2 separate regions of the Homo sapiens genome follow, and region 2 is linked to region 1. Evidence: promoter capture Hi-C in human tissues and cell types (Jung and others, 2019). All regions are on one chromosome and are shown on one strand. Each heading gives the region's core, a stretch centred on a gene start or on the middle of the fragment in contact. The rest is flanking DNA. Distances are from core to core; before and after follow the strand shown.

Evidence for each region. Contacts are between HindIII fragments. The study calls those that stand out against the background at their distance.
Region 2: a contact is called between a fragment that was not itself captured here and the fragment with the promoter of ALDH18A1 in region 1, in 1 of the 25 tissues and cell types used here (spleen).

What each region holds. Positions count from the first base shown.
Region 1 is chr10:95,654,233-95,661,151 of GRCh38, forward strand. It overlaps ALDH18A1 (aldehyde dehydrogenase 18 family member A1), which reads right to left and starts at 2,479. Exons shown (of 18, transcript NM_002860.4): 1 at 2,365-2,479. RefSeq lists a silencer at 2,216-2,325. The HindIII fragment of the contact is 17,710 bases long and covers 1-6,919 here.
Region 2 is chr10:96,136,914-96,143,832 of GRCh38, forward strand. All of the region lies in intron 3 of ZNF518A (zinc finger protein 518A), which reads left to right. It overlaps LOC124902486 (a long non-coding RNA gene), which reads right to left. Exons shown (of 2, transcript XR_007062254.1): 1 at 1-6,919. Among named protein-coding and RNA genes, the nearest start is that of ZNF518A, 10 kb to the left of the region's middle. The HindIII fragment of the contact is 4,633 bases long and covers 255-4,887 here.

The DNA of each region.
Region 1 (6,919 bases), core at 1,229-3,728:
CGGCTCACTGCAACCTCTGTCTCCCGGGTTCAAGTGATTCCCCTGCCTCAGCCTCCCGAGTAGCTGGGACTACAGGCACGCGCTACCATGCCTGGCTAATTTTTTGTATTTTAGCAGAGACGGGGTTTCACCATGTTGGCCAGGATGGTCTCGATCTCCTGACCTTGTGATCCACCCACCTCGGCCTCCCAATATTGTAGCTCTTTTTATGCTACAGAGACACTGCTATTTTCACAAGGTAAGAAAAATACTTCACTTTCTTTGTTTGTGGGCCTCCTTTTAACTTTTGTTCCATGGATTGGTGGATATATCCCAGCCCTCTTAAATGTGCCTCAGAAGACTAGCATTTAGCCCCATAGTGAAGAAAAATTAGGAATGGTGTCATTGCTTTACAATTTATACTGCACAAAGGCACTGAAATGGGACAGAGAAGAGACTGGCAGGATGCAGCTGTTCTAAAACATATGGCATCTAGTAGGCAACAGAAAGTATTAATTGATCTTTGTTATTTCAATTTTTTCATAACACTGAAGTATGATTTTAGCACGTGATCTAAGTTTGCTGCTTATATAAATTCCTTCAATAATGGCTGCTAAACAATTATTTACATGTGAATTCTCCAAAATAACTACAGAAGAGCCAAAGGGTAAAACAATCAAATTCCAGTTCCACCTCCCTAAGAAACCTTCCCCAGCAAGGCTAGTCTTCACAGCTGGATATAATTCTATAGGTTAGCTTTTAAATAGCTCATGACTACTGCTTTTCCCATCTGGATTACAAACTTTCCATTGACAATATGGCAAAAACGATGAGGAACAAGGCCTTTGAAGTTGGTCAGATTTGGGTTCGAGCTCTGCACTTGCTGTGTGTCTTGTGGAGAGTTACCCAATTTTTCTTTATTATTATTATTATTATTATTATTATACTTTAAGTTTTAGGGTACATGTGCACAATGTGCAGGTTAGTTACATATGTAAGAGTTACCCAATTTTTCTAAGCCTCTGTTTCCTCACTTATAAATCAGGGATACTAACACTATGGACCTCATGAAATTATAGTGAGAATTAAAAGAGAGAATGCGTGGAAAGTGCTTGGGTACAACAAATGGTCAGTAAATGTCAGTTTTCCTCCTTTTGTCTTTTAGGCACTAATGATGCCTTACAATTATTTTTTCCTTAATTTCCTTCAAGACCCATCACGGGAACAAAGAATTCAACGAATATTCACTATTAGATACAATCACACACATATATTGACTGACTGTTTACCTCTCTATTAACCAAGAGTCATTGAAAGCTCTGAACACCTACGGTCACTGAAATAAGAGATTGAAGACTGACGTAGAAACCAAGCCTCCTGACCTCTCCCCTGTACCACCATCTCTGACTGACCAGGCAGAGTGTATTACGCCCTCGAGAAGCACACAGTTGATCCCAAGGAGCAAAGAGAGTGTGTGTGTGTGTGTGTGTGTGTGTGTATCTAGACTCGTGTCTAGATTTGTGTGACTGTGTCTCGACTCTGTGTGTGTGTTTAGACTCCATATCATCAGTTGAAGAAAGTTTTCACGTTTTGACTCAAGACATTTCTCAATATCTCTTTACAGACTAAACAGAATGCCCTTATCTAACTGATTTGAACAGAGAAGTGAACCTCAGTCCCAGCACAGTTCACCCACAAACACATGCTCGGTATATGGCTCACCACTTAAATACAAAGATCCGATGGGCCTCACCACCTCAGAGGGCAGGGGATAATGATGGGGGAAGGACGAGGTGGGGTATGTGGGTGCGTCCTGCTGTAACAGGAAGACCCCAGCATACACAGAATGCCATACTGCAAAGGGAGTCTGGCTTTGAGGAGGGGATGATGAACGCCTGGAGGGCCGCGGGGAACTAGGGACCCAGGCCCCTGAGAGTCAGCGTGCGGCCAGCTAAAACCCGCGGCATCCCGGCGCTGCCACCACCGCCACCCACGCCACCCACCAGTGCAGGCTCCATACTCTTGGAAAGAAGGGGCCCGCGGATGCCTGAAGTCTCCACTTGGCCCAGTTCCTTACATGGTGTACCCAGGGGAGGCCGGGGAGGTCAGGGCCCGTAGCCATCCGTAGATCCCGGGGCGGCCGCGCACCGGCATATGGGAGCGCGCCACGGTCTTGCAGCGCGCCCTGGGCGGCCCGATGCAGCCGCCATCCCTCGGCCGAGGCCCACACCTACCCATGGGCCAGATCCCCGGGCCCCGGCACCTGCTCCGGCAGCGTCCCCGCTCCAGCGGCCCGGCGCTCACGCCCCTCGCGCTTGAGCCTGGGCGCGCAACAGCTTCCGCAGAGACGCGGGCGCCTAGCCATCCCCGCCGCTCGCCGCGTACCTTCCTCACCACCGCCGCCTTCGCCCCCTGGCACTACCGCGGGTCCGCACTCCACGCCGGGCTGATTCCGGCGCTCGCTCACTCTCTTTTTTCTTCCGTCCACGTCCCGCACGATGACGTTACGTCAGTGGCGTAAGAGTAAACCTGGGCAGCCGGCCCTACGCTGTTGACGTGGGGCGAGGGCCTGTCCTGGAGCTGCGGCGCGGCAATGGCGTAGGCCCCTTTCGAGAATCAAGCCAGCGCTCCACGTGGCGGGCCAGCCCACCAGGCCCCGGCAGCCTGGAAGAGGCGGGACTCGAGTTCAGGGGGAACGCCCACGTCCCGGGAGGGGACAGGGGCCGGAGACAGGGGCGAAGACACCTTCGAAACGCCGCCCCACTGGGCCTTCCAGGGAGGTAGAAGAGGTGCCTGGCACCCTCAGCTGCTGGTAGATTTCATAAGGTGTGTTTGTCAATGTTAACCATTTATATCCCGGGCACACCTCGGAAATAGGTTGGATCAACTTACATATGTTTGTTACTTCAGGCACATCCTGGGAATAGATTGGATCAGTTTACACACATTTGCAAACTTTGGCTCCTTAAATGGAAGCATTTTGGCACTGCAATCAAATTACTTGCCCCCTAGTCATCTGGAGGTTTCCCCAATGGTCCCATCTCAACTCCCTTTCATCAAAGGCAGTTGTAAGAATATTGCATTTTAAAATAGGATATTCAATCTATGACAACTAGAACTATTCCAAAGGTGAATGCAGACTCACCTTTAAAGAGAGACCACAAAAACCTGGCACTGTGGTGTGTGCCTGTAGTCCCAGCTACTCGTAGGTGGAGGCAGGAGAACCACCTGAGCCCAGGAGTTCAAATCCAGCCTGGACAACACAGCAAGACCCCACCTCTTAAAAAGAAAAAGAAAAAAAGTGAAAACACAGATTTTTCTCCCTCTTTCCTTGCTGTATTTTGCTCAAAGGACACATTCCTGCATAGGCACATAGTGCTGGGTGGTGGGAGGGCAGCACTTGATAGGAGGTTGGGCACAGAAAGGCATCATGCCCTTCTGTCGTCCCTGATAACACTACTAAGCCTATTTATTCATTTTCTTGTTTATTAAACACTGGCTACTGCTATGGTCTGAATATGTCCCCCAAAATTCATATGTTGGAAACTTAATTCCCAATGCAAGAATATTGGGAGGTGGGGCCTAATGGGAGGCATTTGGGTCAAGAGTGCTCCACCTTTATGAATAGAGTGACCCTCATGAATAGATTAATGCTGCTATCAAAAGGTTTGTGGAGGTGGGTGTTCTCTTCTGCTCTTCTGCCCTTCCACCACGTGAGGATACAGCAAGAAAGCCCTCACCAGATGCTGGCACCTTGATCTTGGACTTCCTAGCCTCTAGAACTGTGAGAAATAAATTTCTATTATTTAAAAATTATCCAGTCTGTGTTATTGTGTTTTAGCAGCACAAAATGGACTGAGACAGCCAAGCATTCCCTGGGTGTGGAAGAAGACATAGCTGAGTTCACAGCCTTATGGAAGAGAGAGATATATGAGCAAATAATTACAATACCATGTGATGAATACTAAAGAATGGGATGGCCAGACATTCAGGGATGGCTGAAATGGTTTGACTTTGTGTCCCCACCCAAATCTCACCTTGAATTGTAATTCCCATAATCCCCACCTATGGAGGGTGGGACCTGATGGGAGGTGATTGGATCATGGGACTGTTTCCCCCATGCTGTTCTTGTGATAGTGAGTTCTTATGAGATCTGGTGGTTTTATAAGGGACTCTTCCCCCTTCACTGGTTTGCTTTCTCCTGCCTGCCACCATGTAAGACTTGCCTCTTCCCCTTCCACCATGATTGTAAGTTTCCTGAAACCTCCCCAGCCATGTGAAACTGTGAATCATCTAAATCTCTTTTCTTTATAAATTACCCAGTCTTGGGTATGTCTTTGTAACAGTGTGAAAACAGACTAATACAATGGCTTTAAAAAGAGTTGATATTCAAATTGTGCTTTGAAGCACTAGAAGTAAGGAGTTTACCTAAAAGAGGAGAGGAGTACAGGATCATATGAGGAAGAGGGAATAAGGGAATGATATATGCAGAGGTGTGAGACACCCCGTGAAAAGAGGCTACTTGCAGTAGGACATGACAGGAGAGGGGTCTGGCTGGTATCCTAAACTTACAAAGGGTTTTTTGTGGTATGCTAAAGATTTTGAATTTTATAATCCTTAAAAACAGAGAAACATGACTTTTTAAGTGCTGGAATGGTATGATCCGATTTTTGTGCCAGAAATCAGTAAAGACGCCTAGAGCTGGAATGTTGGTTAGCCTATTGCAAAGGCCCAGGTAAGAAATGGTGGCCCAAAAAAGGCTCCAGCAGAGGAATGGGGAACAAAAAGGAGGGAGAGCTGACAGCACTTATTCAAAGTGGGAGAGTGAGAGAAGAAGAGCAGTGCTTGGGAATCTGATGGTGCTGCAATACCATGAATCAGGAAATCTATGAGGTGAGTTCTCATGAGATCTGATGGTTTTCTAAGGAACTCTTCCCCCTTCACTTGTTTGCTCTCTCATGCCTGCCACCATGTAAGACATGCCTCTTCCCCTTCCACCATGATTGTAAGTTTCCTGAGACCTCCCCAGCCATGTGGAACTGTGAACGGGGAACAACAGTTCTTTTGGGTGGGGAATGAGAATACGAAATGTGTTAAATGTGGAGCATTTTGAATTTGCAGTAGGGTAGAAAAAAACAAAAGAAATTAAATTTCCCTCAAGTAAGTTATATCTGGTACCTCATCTTTTAAGATTCTCATCATGTACTTAGAATGAATTAGATGACTGTGGGTATAGCTAGAGCCAAGGGATAGGGGCCTTCACTTTAGAAGGCCTGTTCTGGTTCTTCTCTTAACTCACAGATTACCTTATGGTAATAGCTTATCTGCCTTCCCTGCTAAAAGATAAGCTCCTGAGAACAGGGAAGTATATTCATGGAACATAAGAAATATTCAATAGATATTTGATAAATAAAATGAACTACTTTTGGTTTAGTTTTCTCAAATTAAGAAATTGGGCTAATGACACCATCCTTGTCTATCCCATAGGGTTGTGAAGAGTATAAAAAATGAAAATCCTTTAACATTGTACAGACATTTTCTATTTTATTTATCACTCATTTTTATTACTATTTTATTACTAATATTCTATTCCATCAATAAGGAGAAAGTAGTGGGATATGTAACTATGGATTAGGAAAAATTAAATTCCAGACATATGAGCTAGTTTTTCCCTCCATAGAAGTCAAGGAAGTAATTCAGCTATGATATTTTTCCTGTGTATGATAAAAAGACTGATTCTTTTTTTGACTGGAGGGGTTTAACTTCTGTCTCAGCAATTAGAAATAAGGCTGGACATGACCAGACAGTCACATAGGAAGTGGGACATTTAGTATTGGTCTATAAGAATGCAGGATTTAGAAGTGCTTCTTTAGATGCCATCTAAATTGTTTTAGGCTTAAATTACCTTAATCTCAAGTTATTTAATTGTAAAAACAGAAACTCATTCAAACAAGACAATTTACTAGAAGCAGTAACTTATAGTCTCCAAAGGCAGGAGGTAAAATTGGGTCTCACAAGGGGCAGGGACAAGAAAACCGGAAAGTAAGTAATCAAGATGGTTCTCCATCTCTAAGTCTCTTGCTGACACTTTTCTTTGCCCATCTGTTTCCTTCTCTCCACTTTTCCTTTAAGATAGAGTCTCCATTAGTGAACATTTGGTGGAAAATGGCTTCCCTAGCTCTAAAAAATCTTTCCAGTTAGTGCCCACTCATGACTCATTTCAAGTCTTGGTCTAAATTCCAAGTTCCTGGGAGAGAAAATTGTACTGGCCTAGACTGGTTCAGGACTCCATTCTTGGTCCAGTCATGCATGTAATGGAAAGATGGAGGCTGTCCCCTCCCCTCCTTAAGCAAAGTTCTGAGCAGTTGGAATTCTCAGAGAAATAGTGGACATATTCAGGAGTTGGCAATGATGGGACCCTTAAATGAAACCAGTTTCAGCCACACTATGCAACATCACATACTTTCACAAACCAAGCTGCACATCAGAAGCACCTAGAAAACTTTACAAAATACAGATCTTGGAGTCCCCACTTCCTAGACCTGCCTCTTCCACCAGTGATCAGAATCTCTAGGGGTAGGGCCCAGGAATCAGTATTTTTATAAAGCACCCTAAAAGATTACTTTGTGACTAACCTTTGGGAACCACTGCTTTAAAAGACCCAGAATACTGAACAAACAAATACAATGATAAAAAAGGGAAGTTACTCATAGAGTATTACATACAATACACAAGAAGTTGAGTTTTTTATTTGTTTGTTTGTTTGTTTTTGAAACAGGGTCTCACTCTGTTACCCAGGCTGGAGTGCAGTGGCATGATCATGGTTCACTGCAGCCTCAACCTCCTGGGCTCAAGCGATCTTCCTACTTCCATCTCACAAATAGCTGGGACTGCAAATGTTCTGGTGATGGTTGTGTAACTCTGTGAATACATTTAAAAC
Region 2 (6,919 bases), core at 1,321-3,820, 480 kb after region 1:
TAAATATTTTAGGCTTTGTGGGCCATATGGTTTCTGGTGCAACTATTGTAACACAAAAGAAGCCATAGGCAATATGTAAATGAGTGAGTGTGGCTGTATTCCAGTGAAACTTAATTTACAAAAACAGGCAGCAGGCCAGATTTGGCCTGCAGGCCGTCATTTCATTCCACAAACTCTCTCAGTCACATCTGCGCACCTGCTAGCATCTTTATTTATCCTCCCCTCTAGTTACTATAGATGGATCATGTTTGCTCCTTTCTAAGTTCACCTCTTCAGCTCGTTCACTAGATTCCGTCCGTTCTAACCTGAAGGACTTCACTGCTGCATTTCTTTCCTATCCTTTATCATCAATTTTTTTATTTTTACTAGATCATTTTAATAAGCGTGCAGTCATACTGTAATTCCTCCCACCTTTAAAAAACAAAAAATAAATTGAAACAAAACAAAACAACTCCTTTATCTTAAAACTCCTTGAAAGAGTTGTCTGCACTGCATCACTACTTCCTCTCTTCCCATTTTGCCTTACATCCAAGCTTGTCAGCCTTTCTCCTCTAAAACTCCACTGAAACTGTTCTAATCCATGGTACCAGTGATCTTCACATTAAGTCTAGTTAGTCATCTTCTTACTTGACAGAGTTGTTCAATCCCTTATCCAGTAAACATTTTCTTCATTTTGCTTTGAGGATACCACATTCTTGATTTACCTTAACTCTTATTGGTCATTTCTTTTCTGTCTCACTTGCTGGTTCTTTTTAATCTCTTTCTGTTGGATGTGTTATAGAATCTTGAGGCTCAGGCCTTGGACTGCTCTTTTTGTTTATTCCCCCTGGTGATTTCATCCTGCTCCAAGTACTTGAAAGTACATATGTACATATACACACACCGATAACTCCCCAAATTTCATCATCCACCTAGCCCTCTGTATTCTATATCCAGCCACACAGTCCACATTTCCTCTTGGATGTCAAATAGACATCTCAGATATTACATGCCTAAAATGGAACTTTTGATAAACTTTCCTATTACTTTAACAATCTTTTATATCTCGGTGAATAGCAACTCAGTTCTTTCCAATGCTGTCAGAACTTCTAGAGTTATCCTTGACATGTCTCTTTCTTTCAGAGAAAGCATATCAGGATATCTTGTAGGTGCTAGCTTCAAAATATATTCAATCTGACCATGCCTCATTGTCTCAGCCAAACCACCATCAACTCTTACTTGGATAATTGTACTGTGTAGTCTTTGTCTTTACTCTTAATCCCTCCTGAATACTCTGTTCTTAGCATAGCAGCCCAAGTGATAGAAGTAATTCGACTCATGGTAATTCTCTGCCCACAATGCTCCAGTAGCTTCCTCTCTGATTCAGAATAAAACCAAAGCCTTTACAGTTTCTATCAGGGCCTGTTTCTGTCCCCTTGTTACTTCTCTGACCTCATCTTCTAGCTTTCCCTCTAATGCTTTCTGTTGTGGTCATACTGATTTTCTTGCTGTTCCCCAAATGTGTTAGGCACATTGCACACTCAGGGTCATGTCACTAACTTTTGTTTTCTTGGATTGTTGGCTTCCTCAGCTCTTTAAGATACTGACTCCAATAAGACCTTTTCAAGTCGAGGGCTCCCTGACTTAATATGTAAAATTACAACACTCTGATTCTGCCTTTCTGTCTTTGCTTTATTTTTCTCTGTAGCAATTGTTGCCTTTGAATATACTTTATAATTTACTTACTTTGTTTATTACCTAAATAATCAGTAAAATGTTACCTCCGTGAGGGGAGGGATTTTTGTCTGTTTGGTTTACTGCCATATTCCCAATGCTTAGAACGTAGATGTGGTGCTAGCTACAAGTCTGGCAGCATCCCACATGCTGGTGATGTAGTAAAGGACATTACAGATGTAGTTCTCACCCTTACGCAACTTATATTCCGGTGGTAGAGACAGATAGAAAATAAATGGGCAAATAAATAAAATATTGCCAGAGATATTAAGTGTTACAAAAAAAGAAATAGAAAAGGATAAAGTGGCGAATTTTTTTTTTTTTTTTTTTTTTGAGGAAGGGATGGTTTATAGGGAAGGGCCCTTCTGAGGTGGTGGCATTTGAGCTGAGACCTAAAAGATGAGAAGGATGTAGCCTTTTGAAGAATGGAAGAAAGCACATTTCAAGTAGGGAACAGCAGGTGCAAAGGCCTGAGATAGGATGGATAGGAAGAATATTTGAGGAGCTGAGAATCTGTGGCAGCTTGTTGGAGTATATGTACAATGGGGAGAGTGGTGTGAGATGAAGTTGAAGAAAAAGACCCAAGACCAGATACCGCTGTTTCTTGCAGGCCTTTGTAAAGAGATTAAATTTTATTTTAAGTGCCTTGTTGCTATAGGCTGAATGTTTATGTCCCCCTTCCCCATACTCAAATTGATACATTGAAACCTATTCTCCAGTGTGATGGCATTTGGAAGTGGGGCCTTTTTAAGAGGTGATTAGGTCATAAGGGCAGAGTCCTTATGAATGGAATTAGTACCCTTATAAAAGAGACCCCAGAGGGCTCTATTTTGTCATGTGAGGACACAGTGAGAAGATGGCCACCTGTGAACCAGGAAGTAGGCCCTCCCCAGACACCAAATCGCCAGTGCCTTGATCTTAGACTTCCTAGGCTTCAGAATTGTGAGAAATAAGTCTATGGTACTCTGTTACAGCAGCCAGAACAGAGTAGGACACTTGGGAAACCACCAAGGAGCTTTAAGCAGGGGAGCTTTGTGATATGTTTTATTTTAAGAAGAACATTTGCTCCTGTGTGGAGGATGGACTCAGAGGAGGGTGGTGGACAAGGTGGAAGCATGGATGCCAGTTAGGAGGATGTTTTCATTCATGTTAGAAATGATGGTGGCCTGGACTAAGATGATGACAGTGGATAGGAAGAGAGGAAGGGAAATACAAGATCTGTTGGTTTTGTTTTTGTTTTTATTTTTTCGAGACGGAGTTTTGCTTTTGTTGCCCAGGCTGGAGTGCAATGGTGTGATCTCGGCTGACTGCAACCTCCACCTCCCGGGTTCAAGTGATTCTCCTGCCTCAGCCTCCTGAGTAGCCGGGATTACAGGCATGCACCACCATATCTGGCTAATTTTGTGTTTTTAGTAGTGGCGGGGTTTCTCTATGTTGGTCAGGCTGGTCTCAAACTCCCGACCTCAGGTGATCCACCTGCCTCAGCCTCGCAGAGTGCTAGGATTACAGGTGTGAGCCACCTCGCCCGGCCCAAGATCTGGTTTTGAGATGGAATTGACCAGGCTTGCTTATGGATTAATGTGGGGAGTAAGGGATGGAGGAATCAAGGATGAGTCTTGATTTCTGGGTTGTGGAACTGTATGAATTTTAGTGCCATATAGTAAGATGGGGACATCCAGGGAGTGTAACTTCTAATCATGGAGGCAGGTGCTGTGTAGACCTAGAGAAAAATTAAACCATTTATATTATTTTCTGAAGCTGAGTAAGAATGGATCACATGATAACATGTTCTCCCAGCAAATAGCAGTACATCTTTTGATTTTCTTCCCTCCCCTCATGTATTCCAAATCAAAATCTGCCTATTCTAAATCACTGTCGCAGCAAAATGACAAACAGAAAAAGAAAAGAGCAAAAGATGAAAATAATTCCTTTTCTATACTGAATTCAATGGCTCTTATGTCACTTTGGACAAATTAGTTCAGATTTTTCTCCCAATTCCTACCTATTAAAAAGGTGATTTCTGCCAGGGTGTGGTGGCTTATGTCTGTAGTCTCAGCACTTTGGGAGGCTGAGGTAGGCAAATTGCTTGAGACCAGGAGGTCAAGACCAACCTGGGCAACATGGTGAAACCCCATCTCTTAAAAAAAAAAAAAGAATTGGAAAAATTAGCTGGGCATGGTGGTGCATACCTATAGTCCCAGCTACTTGGGAAATTGAGGTGGGAGAATCAATTGAGCCCAGAAGGGCGAGGCTGTAATGAGCCGTAATTGTGCCATTGCAGCACTTCAGCCTGGGAGACAGAGTAAGACCCTGTCTCAAAAAAAAAGATGGGGGGTTGTGGGAGTGATTTCTGACTCTGTGTTTTAAACCAAGTTCCAAATTATTGCAGCAAAAAAGTTTACATGCTCTTTGAAGTTTGCTAGAAAGTGATTTAATCTAAAATCATAGTCATATATTTGATTTGAAAATGAGAGAATGAATAGCTTAAAAATATATGGGTTAGGCACTTGTGTACCCAGCCTTCTGGTTTTTGTGAGGGAAAAATGAGAAATAGTAAGTAAAACTTGCATTTAGGAAGCTTATAAATTATCTGGGGAGGTAAAAAATAATGAAATTATGTAATAGTATAAAGCAATTTGTAATAAATGGTGAGCACTGGCTATTCTTTAAGTGGATACTCAGAGAAAGGAGAGATTTAGTGTGTATTGTAAAAGGTTACATGTCCCTATAAGAAGCAGAATTTGAAAGGAAGTTTGAATAGTGTTGAATTTAGATAGAAGGAAGGAGATGCCATGCCTGGTGACCGAAAACTATATGAACAGAACAAAGGTAAATAAAGGTGTATGTGTGGGTAAGCATCTTTTATATTGGGCACAGTGAGAAGTCATAGTTTCAGGGAGTAATAAAGAATAAGGTTTACCTGAACCAAGAACTGCTTCTGTATTTTAATTTTTAATTTTAAACTCCTTTATAATTGTATACCAATATCAATTGCATACCAGAATGGTATGTGACTCACAGATACACTAGAATTTTGAACATTTCTAGATCTGTATTTAATTACTTTTGCATATTTAATTACTTTTGCATATTTAACCCTACATTTCTTTTTTTCTTCTTCATTTTTTTTTTTTTTTTTGAGACAGGGTCTAGCTCTGTTGGTCTGGAGTGCAGTGGTGCTTGGCTTGCTGCAACCTCTGCCACCCAGGTTTAAGGGATCCTCCCACCTCAGCCTCCTGAGTGCCTGAGAATACAGGCACATGCCACCACACTTGCCTAATTTTTAAAATACTTTTGTAGAGATGAGGTCTCACTATATTACTCAGGCTGGTCTTGAACTCCTGGACTCAAGCAGTTCTCCTGCCTCTGCCTCCCAAAGTGCTGGGATTATAGGCCTGAGCCACCATGCCCAGCCTACATTTCTTTTTCTATGCTTAAGTTGTTCATTAGACCACAGTGATTTGGAAGGAGCTGGCTTTGGTTACATATGTAAACTGTATACAACCATTTCTTGCACTCTTAAAATGTGATAGGCTTTAGTCTCTCAGGTAAACTTTTTGAAAACTTAAAACAGCTGCAAAAAAAAGTAAGCCCAAAATGTTTGTTTCAAGTCATGAATAGATAATAGTTATTTTGAGGGCACTAAAATAGATTCTGCTTTGAAAGTAATATTCTTAGGGTGTGTGTGTGTGTGTGTGTGTGTGTGTGTGTGTGTGTGTGTGTGTGTGTTTCTAGATTCCTTTTAGCAGAACCTTATATTTTTCAGTAAGCTTTTACTGTTACATGCTGCTTTGGTTTGATCACCACTCATATATTCATTCATATGACTGTTTTGCCTGTATCTGCAGAAGAAGGATTGAATGACTTAAGGAATGCAGTAGTTTTTTATGTGATGAGACAACTTAGAGAGCTACATGCTGAGTCATGAATATAGCTAAGCTAAAACTAGAGTTTTTAGTTTTTTTTTGGTGTTTAAGCAACTTGAATATAGTTAAGTAGCAGATAGATTCTTCCTTTTTAGACTCTGTAGAATGCCTTTGACTTTTAATTATTTTAGAAAGCAAATATAACTGTCTAGGAATGTTGCCTTTTGATGAACTCTTCAAATCTTCCTTATCTTTGGCATTTTACTTTGGGAATTATCTTTTAAAAATCTTTCCGGACCCAATGTGTGATTTCTTTTTTTTTTTTTTTATTGCGACAGAGTCTCGCTGTGTCGCCCAAGCTGAAGTACAGTGGCGTGATCCCGGCTCACTGCCAACCTCTGCCACCCGGGTTCAAGTGATTCTCATGTCTCAGCCTCCTGAGTAGCTGGGATTACAGGCACCCGCAACCATGCCCGGCTAACTTTTTGTATTTTTAGTACAGATGGGGTTTCGCCATGTTGGCCAGGCTGTTCTTGAACTCCTAACCTCAGGTGATCCGCCCGCTTTGGCCTCGCAAAGTGTTGGGATTACAAGCATGAGCCACCGCTCCCAGCCGTGATTTCTGACCTATGTATGTTAACATTACCAGTTCCTTGGCTCCTCACTTTTTATTTGGATTGTCACTCTAGTTGCTTAATTTCCTCATTTCTATTTTTACTCTTTCTCCAGTTTATCTTGCTGTCTAGTACCCTTCTAATATTTCTAATGTACTGCTTTTATAACTTTTTTCTGTTCTTAAATTAACAATTGCTTCTGTTTACCTTTCATTTCCAGTTCAGATCTGTCCTCTATAGTCTGTTCTCACTTAACCTCCCCATCATGCATTCTCTTTTTCATCTAGACCCTGTGGTACCTTAGGAGAAAAATACTTTTCTTCCATTGTTTCTTTATTCTGTTCTTGTGGTTTAGATTGCCTTTGCTTCTTTCTTACATGTTTTAAGTCCTGCTACTCTTTAAAGGGTCCTCACAAAACCTACCTTTCTGTGAAGTAAACACAGTCATCGTTGATTTGTCAACTTTCTGTAGTATGTAAGAAGCCTTTGATTACAAGCAGTAGAAACCAATGTGAGCTAGCTTATGTTGAAAGGGGGGATTATTTTAAGGATACAGGATTTCCTGGAATTCAAGAGTAGGAATATATAGGCAGACCTCATAAAGGCTTGTGGTGGTGACATTGCCCTCTTGGTTTCAGTCAGGGTTCTTAGGAGAGCTGATGATTTTTCTCCTATTGATTTGGTTTTCTGGTTTGTTTTTTGCTATACCATGCTGTCATTTCTTTT